Linked DNA regions of Homo sapiens: regions 2 and 3 are each linked to region 1. Evidence: promoter capture Hi-C in 16 types of primary human blood cells and fetal thymus (Javierre and others, 2016). All regions are on one chromosome and are shown on one strand. The core of a region is centred on a gene start or on the middle of the fragment in contact, and the rest is flanking DNA. Distances in the headings are between cores, read along the strand shown.

The links. The method cuts DNA at HindIII sites, captures the fragments that hold promoters and counts their contacts. A CHiCAGO score of 5 or more calls a contact.
Region 2: a contact is called between a fragment that was not itself captured here and the fragment with the promoter of SNRPA1 in region 1, in 5 of 17 cell types (M0 macrophages, megakaryocytes, M1 macrophages and 2 more). The highest score is 9.4, in M0 macrophages.
Region 3: a contact is called between a fragment that was not itself captured here and the fragment with the promoter of SNRPA1 in region 1, in 7 of 17 cell types (M2 macrophages, megakaryocytes, M1 macrophages and 4 more). The highest score is 7.2, in M2 macrophages.

Annotation. Positions count from the first base shown.
Region 1 is chr15:101,293,872-101,296,601 of GRCh38, forward strand. SNRPA1 (small nuclear ribonucleoprotein polypeptide A') reads right to left here and starts at 1,377. Exons shown (of 9, transcript NM_003090.4): 1 at 1,226-1,377. The coding sequence starts at 1,307. SNRPA1-DT (SNRPA1 divergent transcript) reads left to right here and starts at 1,477. Exons shown (of 2, transcript NR_186319.1): 1 at 1,477-1,858. RefSeq lists enhancers at 331-962, 1,526-1,575, 1,636-1,725 and a silencer at 1,106-1,295. The HindIII fragment of the contact is 2,362 bases long and covers 1-1,874 here.
Region 2 is chr15:101,604,202-101,606,931 of GRCh38, forward strand. LINC02348 (long intergenic non-protein coding RNA 2348) reads right to left here. Exons shown (of 3, transcript NR_147041.1): 3 at 1-1,834. Among named protein-coding and RNA genes, the nearest start is that of LINC02348, 8.8 kb to the right of the region's middle. The HindIII fragment of the contact is 806 bases long and covers 952-1,757 here.
Region 3 is chr15:101,031,017-101,033,746 of GRCh38, forward strand. All of the region lies in intron 20 of LRRK1 (leucine rich repeat kinase 1), which reads left to right. Among named protein-coding and RNA genes, the nearest start is that of LRRK1, 110 kb to the left of the region's middle. The HindIII fragment of the contact is 8,031 bases long and covers 1-2,730 here.

The sequences.
Region 1 (2,730 bases), core at 127-2,626:
ACTGCATCAAAATACGTATTCTCAACACTGCACATGCTCCATAAAGAGAAATGGCAGAGATCATCAAAAGTGGTGAGTTGGGCCGGGCGCAGTGGCTCAAGCCTGTAATCCCAGCACTTCGGGAGACCAAGGCGGGCGGATCACCTGAGGTCGGGAGTTCGAGACCAGCCTGACCAACATGGAGAAACCATGTCTTTACTAAAAATACAAAAAATTAGCCGGGCGTGGTGGCGCATGCCTGTATTCCCAGCTACTCGGGAGGCTTGAGACACAGGAATCACCTGAACCGGGGAGGCGGCGGTTGCAGTGAGCCGAGATCACGCCACTGCGCTCCAGCTGGGGCGGAAAGAGCGAGACTCCATCTCAACACAACACAACACAAAACAGTGGGATTTCCCAAAGGTCGGCAAGAAATCTAAGCAGATCCCGCAGCGATGCTGCTCCGAGGCCATAGGTCCCCATGGGAACAAATCTCAGGCTACGACAGCATGGTCTTATCCTCAGAGAAGTTGCTCTATCACGTCCCTTTTAAAGCCGTCTCCTGAAATGCCAACTAGCTAGCTGCCCTCCCAGTATCTTACCAAGTCTTGCTAAGGTTGAAATAGTACAGGAATCTGAATAATTGCGAGCGCTTCCACAACTTACACACAGCACCCGGCGGTGCAAGCCTGGGTGACACAGTTCAATTTTTAAAACGTCTTCATATAGGGGAAACGCCAGACAATTAAAGCTACTAAGTAGAAAATACTGGAGGAAACAATCGCGGTTGTTCGGGGACTTAGTTTCCTCCCTCACATTAGGAATAATGAACACATATCCTATCTACGCTCAAAATATCATCTGGCGGCAAGTATTAAGAACCAATCCCGCGCCCTGCACTTGCGTTACAACCATTAATGAGCCGCTCTTCCGGGCCCTCAAACAGCCAGCGGCGAAACAGCCAAGCAAGGCCTAACAGGGCCCCACGAGGACGCACCAGGAAGTAATGAAGTCACCCGTGCCTGTCAAGAGGCACGGCGCTAACAGAAGGCTCCCAGGAGCTTAACCGGATGCTCATCTGGCAACAACGGCAAGAATCAGGCCCGGCGTTCCCTGCGCAGCCCGGTCGGAGCCCAGACAACCGGCCCGCGGGCCAAGCTCCGGCCTTCGGTGCACGCGGCAAAGCGCGGAAAATAAGGCGGCTCGGTGCCGCCTGGGGACTGGCCGCCCACGCCCCCGGACTCACCCCGGAGGTCCAGCTCCCGGTCGCGCACCGCGTTGGTGTACTGCGCCGCCTGCTCGATCAGCTCCGCCGTCAGCTTGACCATCCTGCAGCCTCCCGTTCCCCCGCGCTGTGGAAAGCCCGTGGCCTCCCGCCAGCGAGACGTCCCAGCGTGCCCCGCGCCCCGCCGCCAGGCAGCACCAATCGCAGCCGCCGAGTGCGCGCGCAGCTCGACCGCCAGGCCGAAGCAATCGAAGAGCCACGCCTCCGGGGGCGTTCTTGCCGGAAGTCGTGGCGCGCGCACAGGGGATGTGTCTCGTTCTGGGTTGTTTCCTAGGGTGTGTTTCGGAGTCTGGAGGACCCCTGATTCCAGACGTTGGTGTTTAAAAGTTAAGGCGAATGTGGAAACACCCGAGGGGAACTTTCTCATGCATTAGCGCACCTCGAGGTGGGAGGGGAAGCGGTGACTGTCCTCCCTCCACCAGCCGTCGCGGGAACCCGTGGGGTTCAGTGAAGGGTCCAGCAGTTCAGGTGCCCGCCCCGGGCCTGGGCCTTGGCTCCGGGCTACAGTGTGAGATCCCGGGCTAGGTGGCCCGCCTGGGGCAGGTCGCCGGGACAACCCCACCGCCCCGCAAGTCCAGCCCGGCCTCGGGCACGGTAGGGTTTGCGGTTAAGCTTGTGACCTTTAGACTTCTGAATATTCATATGTATGAAATGTGATATACATAAAAGTGTGCATATCAGGAATTTACAGTGATTAATGACCAGAGTGAACACAGCTGCGTAGCCGACACCGGGATCCAAAACACCGCTATTCTGAAAGCCTCCCTCTTTCCCAAAAGGCAACCGCGAACTCAACACTACAAATTCGGTTTGCTTGCTTTTGCTATAAATAGAATCATGCAGTATGCTTTTTTTTTTGGCCTAGTTTCATGGAGTCTATATTATGTCTGGAGTCCATCCAGGTTGCATACAGAGATGGTTTGTTTGCTTTTGCTGCTGAAGAGAATTCCATTGTATATATTATACCATAAATTACTTATTCTGCTGTTGATAGACATCAAAGTTGTTTTCAGTTAGGGCTATTCTGAGTAATGCTACTATGAATTTTCTGGTACGTGGTTCTGATGCACGTTTGCATGAGTTTGTCCTGGAGTGGGACTGCTGGGACATAGGGTATATCTATCATCAATAAGTAATGCCCAACAGTTATGCTAAGAGGCTGAAATAATATACACACTCCAGCGGTGTGTAAGGGTTTTCATGGCTTCCAGCTTCAGCCTTCTTGGCATTTTAACTCTATAACTTCAGCTATTCTGATGGGTGTGTGGTGGTATTGCACTACTGCTTTGCTTTGCTTTTCTCTAATAACTAATGAAGCTGAGAACCTTCTCATGTGTATGGTGCCCATTCTGATAGCTTCCTTGGTTAAGTGTTCTTTCGAGTCCCTGGCTCATTTTTTTTTTTTCCTTATGGAGTTGTCTGCCTTTTTTCTTATTGATTTGTGGAATTTCTTTATATATTAGGGA
Region 2 (2,730 bases), core at 105-2,604, 310 kb after region 1:
AGTGAAGAGACAGACACCATCAGAAAGTGCTTCTGCAAGCCCCCTCTACCCCTTCTATGCCGGCTCATCTTCCCACCCATCCTTCCCACCTAAAGCCAGCCCTCTGCCTATGCACCAGACATTGGCTTCTGCCTACTCAAGGATGTGTCCAGCAGGGCTTGCTTCTCTCGCCTGCATTGTTCATTTCCCCTTTGCAGGATCATTCCCATCAGATGCATGGATGAAACCTAGATGCCCCTTCCCCCAGTCCTCTCCGGCTACTGCTTCTCGTTCCCCTTTACAGCATAACTGAGGAACATGAAGGAGCATTATTCTCCCAGTCCTCTCCTCCAGCATAAACTGAGCCCACACTAGTCAGCTTCCCTCACCCTCCTCATCCCATGGAAATAGCTCTAGTCAAAGTCACTACATGCCCCTCCACTGCCACTCCTAATGTCAACTCTCAGTCCTTATCTCACATGACTCATTGGCACCATGGGAACCAGTTGGTCTCTGCCTCCTACTTAAAGCACTTTCCCCAGGAGGCTCCCAGGACCATGTACTCTTCCAGCTCTCTTCCAGACCCACATCCATTCCTCAGGCTCCTTAGTCTTTTCTCCTCAGCTCCCAGGCCTCTTGATGTCATTGCACCCTGGCTCAAGTTGGCCATTTTCTCCCCTCAATTGCAGTACCCCTGAGGCTTTCCATCCACCATGGCAGTGAGCTTGGAAGTGTGTTCTCCCCAGGCAAGCCTTCAGATGAGACTGCAGCCCCCGCCGACACTTTGATTGCAGCCTTGACAGGTGAGAGACCTTGAGTCAGAAGCAGCAAGCAAAGCCATACCCAGATTCTCACCCAGAAAAACTGAGAGATAATAAATGTTTGTGTTTTTAAAGTTTTAGAGTAATTTGTTGCATAGCAATAGATAATACATTCTTCTATGACCTACGCTTTGCCCTGTTTAAGCTTCGAAGCTTTCCCAATTCTAGCCTTCTGGCATCTAGAGGATAAATCTGTGCCTTCCTCAGTAGGTTCCCAGAATATAAGAGAAGTTTGATTTTAGAAAGATGATAATTTCTTCTGGCTGAGTGTGGTGTTTTATGCCTGTAATCCCAGCACTTTGGGAGGCTGAGGCAGAATAACTGCTTGAGACCAGGAGTTCAAGACCAGCGTGGGCAACATAGCAAGATCCTATCTCAAAAAAAAAAAAAACTAAAAAATTAGGCATGGTAGTGTCCACCTGTAGTCCCAGCTATTCAGGAGACAGAGACATGGGGATCATATGAGCCTAACAGTTCAAAGCTGCAGTGAGCTATGATCAAGCCACTGCACTCCAGCATGGGCAATAGAGCAAGACCCAGTCTCTATAATTTTTTTTTTTTAAAAGAAAGGTGATCATTTTATATAAGCAATTTTCTCCATGTGTTATGTTATTAAAGATTTAAACTGGACTCAGAGTTCAGCAGAGGGGAAGAATCAGTGTCCACTAATGTCCTGTTTTCTCTTCCTGCATGATTTGCGGCAACTTTGAAAACTCCCTTTTTCTTTGTGTGCCAAAAAGTCTGGCTTCTCAGCCTCATTCCCAAGCGGCCTTCTCTGGGTTATGGAAGGAATCCACTTGCCTCTGGAGGAGGGCTACGCAAAGATGTCCACCTCCTCACATATCTTGTAGGACCATGGCATGAGGCAGAGCCCTGGCCAAGTACTCCACGAACCAGATCCAGCTGAAGTAATTATTGCATTCCAAGATCCAAAGTGTATCCAGCCATGGGAACAAAAGCTTCATCTTATGTTCCAGTGGGACTGGCTGCTTGCAGTGCTCTGCGGAGAAGGATGTAAAGGCCAAGTTCACACTCTGTGGGAAAGAATGCCATGGTCAGTGATCAGCTAGTGATGTCTGTCATGATCACAGGGATGGGAAGTGGAGGCAGGCTTTCCACTGATGATGCTCCCTCCATTCCTTACAAAATCTTTCCCCCTTGTCCTGAAGGCCTTTTGAATAAGCTCTGCATCCAGTTGTGTCTAGGTACTTTTAAAAACAGAAAGGGCACAATCGGAAATGGCAGCCCAAGGCCCACCCAACCCCAGGTTAGGTCCCATTGATCTTGTCAACTGTTCATTCAAGAAAAGAAAGGCGGCTGAGCGTGGTGGCTCATGCCTGTAATCCCAGCGCTTTGGGAGGCTGAGGTGGGCAGACCACCTGAGATCAGGAGTTTGAGACCAGCCTGGCCAACATAGGGAAACCCCGTCTTTACTAAAAAAAAATAAAATAAAAAAATCAGCTGGGTGTGGTGGTATAGACCTGTAATCCCAGCTACTCAGGAAGCTGAGGCATGAGAATTGCTTGAACCTGTGAGGCAGAGGTTGCAGTGAGCCGAGATGGTGCCACTGTGTTCTAGCCTGGGCAACAGAGTGAGACTCCATCTCAAAAAAAAAAAAAAAAAAAAAAAAAAGGAAAAGAAAGGAAAGGCAGGCCAGACGAGAGGTCCAGGAAGTCAGGCAGGAAGCTGCAGGTTTGTGTTGGGTGGGAACATGGGGGTGATAGTAACCCGGCATAGGGCAGCCACAGGCAGTGAAGACAGAGGGAACAACAACCCCCCATCGATGGATTGTACTGGGAAGAAATGCAGAAAACTCACAGCCTCATCTTCCGCTGAAACACAGGCATCCTCGGAGGTGGTTGATCCAGATCCATTTAACCATCTGTGGATGGAGGTAGCTGACCACGGTGGGTGACAGGCTCACCATAGA
Region 3 (2,730 bases), core at 106-2,605, 260 kb before region 1:
ATTCCTGAGTTACTTCACTTAGAATAATAGTCTCCCGTCTCCTCCAGGTCACTGCAAATGCTGTTAATTCATCCCTTTTTATGGCTGAGTAGTGTTCCATCATAGGTAAAGTTTACTTACAGTGAAATGCCCGGATCGCTAGTGTTCAAAACAATGACTTTTGACAAATGCATACAACTGTGCAAGCAGCACCTGCCTCAAGACACAGAATGTTCCTGTCATACTGGAAGTTCCGCCAGACGCCCTTCCAGTCGCTTCCCATCCGTGTCAGCACCAGCACTCTGACTTCCAGCACCAGAGCCTACTGTTTCCTGTTCTTGAACTTCTCAACCGCACAGAGTCACGCAATATGGTCTCTAATTGGCTTCTCGCACTAAACATCATGCCTTTGAGATCCATCCATGCGGTTGTGTGTATCAGGAGTTTGTTCTTTCTGTTGCTGAGTAGTATTCCATTGTATGGCTTTACTGCAATTTGTTTATCCACTCAGCTCTTGATAGGCATTTGGATGGTTTCCAACTTTGGGCTATGATGAATAACACTGCTGTAAACAGTCTTAAGTCTTTTTGGAGACACATGTTTTCATTTCTCTTGGATCAAAACCAGGAGTGGAATTGCTGGATAATAGAGTGTAAGTTTAATTTTATAAGAAATCACCAGGCTGTCCCCCAAGAGACTGTATGCTCCTCCAAGAGACTGTACACTCCATTTCCTCCCCACTATTTTTTTTTTTTTTGAGATGGAGTCTCGCTCTGTCGCCCAGACTGGAGTGCAGTGGCACGATCTTGGCTCATTACAAGCTCTGCCTCCCGGGTTCTTGCCATTCTCCTGCCTCAGCCTCCAAAGTAGCTGGGACTACAGGCGCCCACCACCGCGCCTGGCTAATTTTTTGTATTTTTAGTAGAGACAGGGTTTCACCATGTTATCCAGGATGGTCTCGATCTCCTGACCTCGTGATCCGCCTGCCTTGGCCTCCCAAAGTGCTGGGATTACAGGGGTGAGCCACTGCGCCGGCCTCCTCCCCAATATTTGTTGTCTGTAGGTCTTTCTGATTTTAGCTATTCCAGTGGATGTGAGCTTGTACTTGACTGTGGCTTTACTTTACATTTTCTTCATGACTAATGAGGTCTAGCACCTTTCGTGAGCTTATTGGCCGTTGGTATATCTTCTTCTGTGAAGTGTCTATTCAAGTTTTATGCCTATTTTATGATTAGAATGTTTTCCTTTTTGGTACTGATATGTACTTCTTTATATCTTCTGGATACAAGTTCTTTTTTTTTTATTCTTTAAGTTCTAGGGTACATGTGCACAACGTGCAGGTTTGTTACATATGTACACATGTGCCATATTGTGCTGCACCCATTAACTCGTCATTTAACATGAGGTGTATCTCCTAATGCTATCCCTCCCCCCTCCCCCTACCCGATACAAGTTCTTTCTCAGATATATGATTTGCAAATATTTTCTCCCAGTCTGTGACTTCCTTTTTTTATATTAATGAAGTCTAACTTTTAAATTGTGTGATTATTGCTTTTTATGTCATCTTTAAGAAATATTTGCTTATACCACAATCTTGACAATCTTTCTTTATTTTTCTTCTAGAAGGTTTGTAGTTTAGCTTTTACTTCCAGGTCTATAATCTATGTCAAATTAATTTTTGTATATGGGGTGAAGTAGGGGTCGAGGTCCATTTTTTTCCTGTATATTATCCCATTGTTCCAGAACCATTTGTTGGAAAGACTTTCCTTTCCCCATGGAATTATCTTGGTTTCTTTATCAAAAATCAGTGATGTGGGTTTATTTCAGGACTCTATTTTGTTCCACTAATATATATGCCTATCCTTATGCCAGTGCCAAACCCCACTGATTATTGTAGCTTTAGAGTAAGACTTGAAATCAGGTTGCGTGAGCGTTTTGTATTAGTTTCCTGTGATTGCTGTAAGATACCATGAATGTGGCATCTTAAAACAACACACATTTTTCTGGAGGCCAGAAGTCCAAAGTAAGTTTCCCTGGTCCAAAGTCAAGGGGTCAGCAGGATCATGCTGCCTCTGAAGGCTCTAGAAGAAAATCCATTTTCTTATCTTTTCCAGTCTCTAGAGCTGCATTTCTTAGCTCACATTTCTTTTATCAATACATAATATTTTACGTATTTATGGGGTACAGGTGAGTAGTTTTTACATGTGTAGAATGTGGAATGATCAAGTCAGGGTATTTGGGGTATCCATCACTTTGAGTATTTATCCTTTCTATGTGTTGGTATCATTTCAAGTCCTGGCTTCTAACCACTTTGAAATATACCATATATTCTTGCTAACTATCGTCACCCTAGTCTGCTATTAACCATTAGAACTTATTTCTTCTAACTGTATGTCTGTACCCATTCACCAACCTCTCTTCCTCCCACTCTCACACCCTTCCTAGCTTCTAGTATCTGTCATGCTATTTTCTATCTTCATAAGATCAAGTTTTTTAGCTCCCACATATGAGTGGGAGCATGCAGTATTTGTTTCTCTTTGCCTGGTTTATTTCATTTAATGTAATGACTTACAGTTTCATCCATGTTGCTGCAAATGACATGATTTCATTCTCTTTTACAGCCAAGTAGTATTCCATTGTGTATATGGACCTTTCTTTATCCATTTCTCCATTGATGGACACTTAGGTTGGTTCCTTATCTTTGCTATTTTGAATAGTGCTGCAATAGATAAGGGAATCCAGGTATCCCTT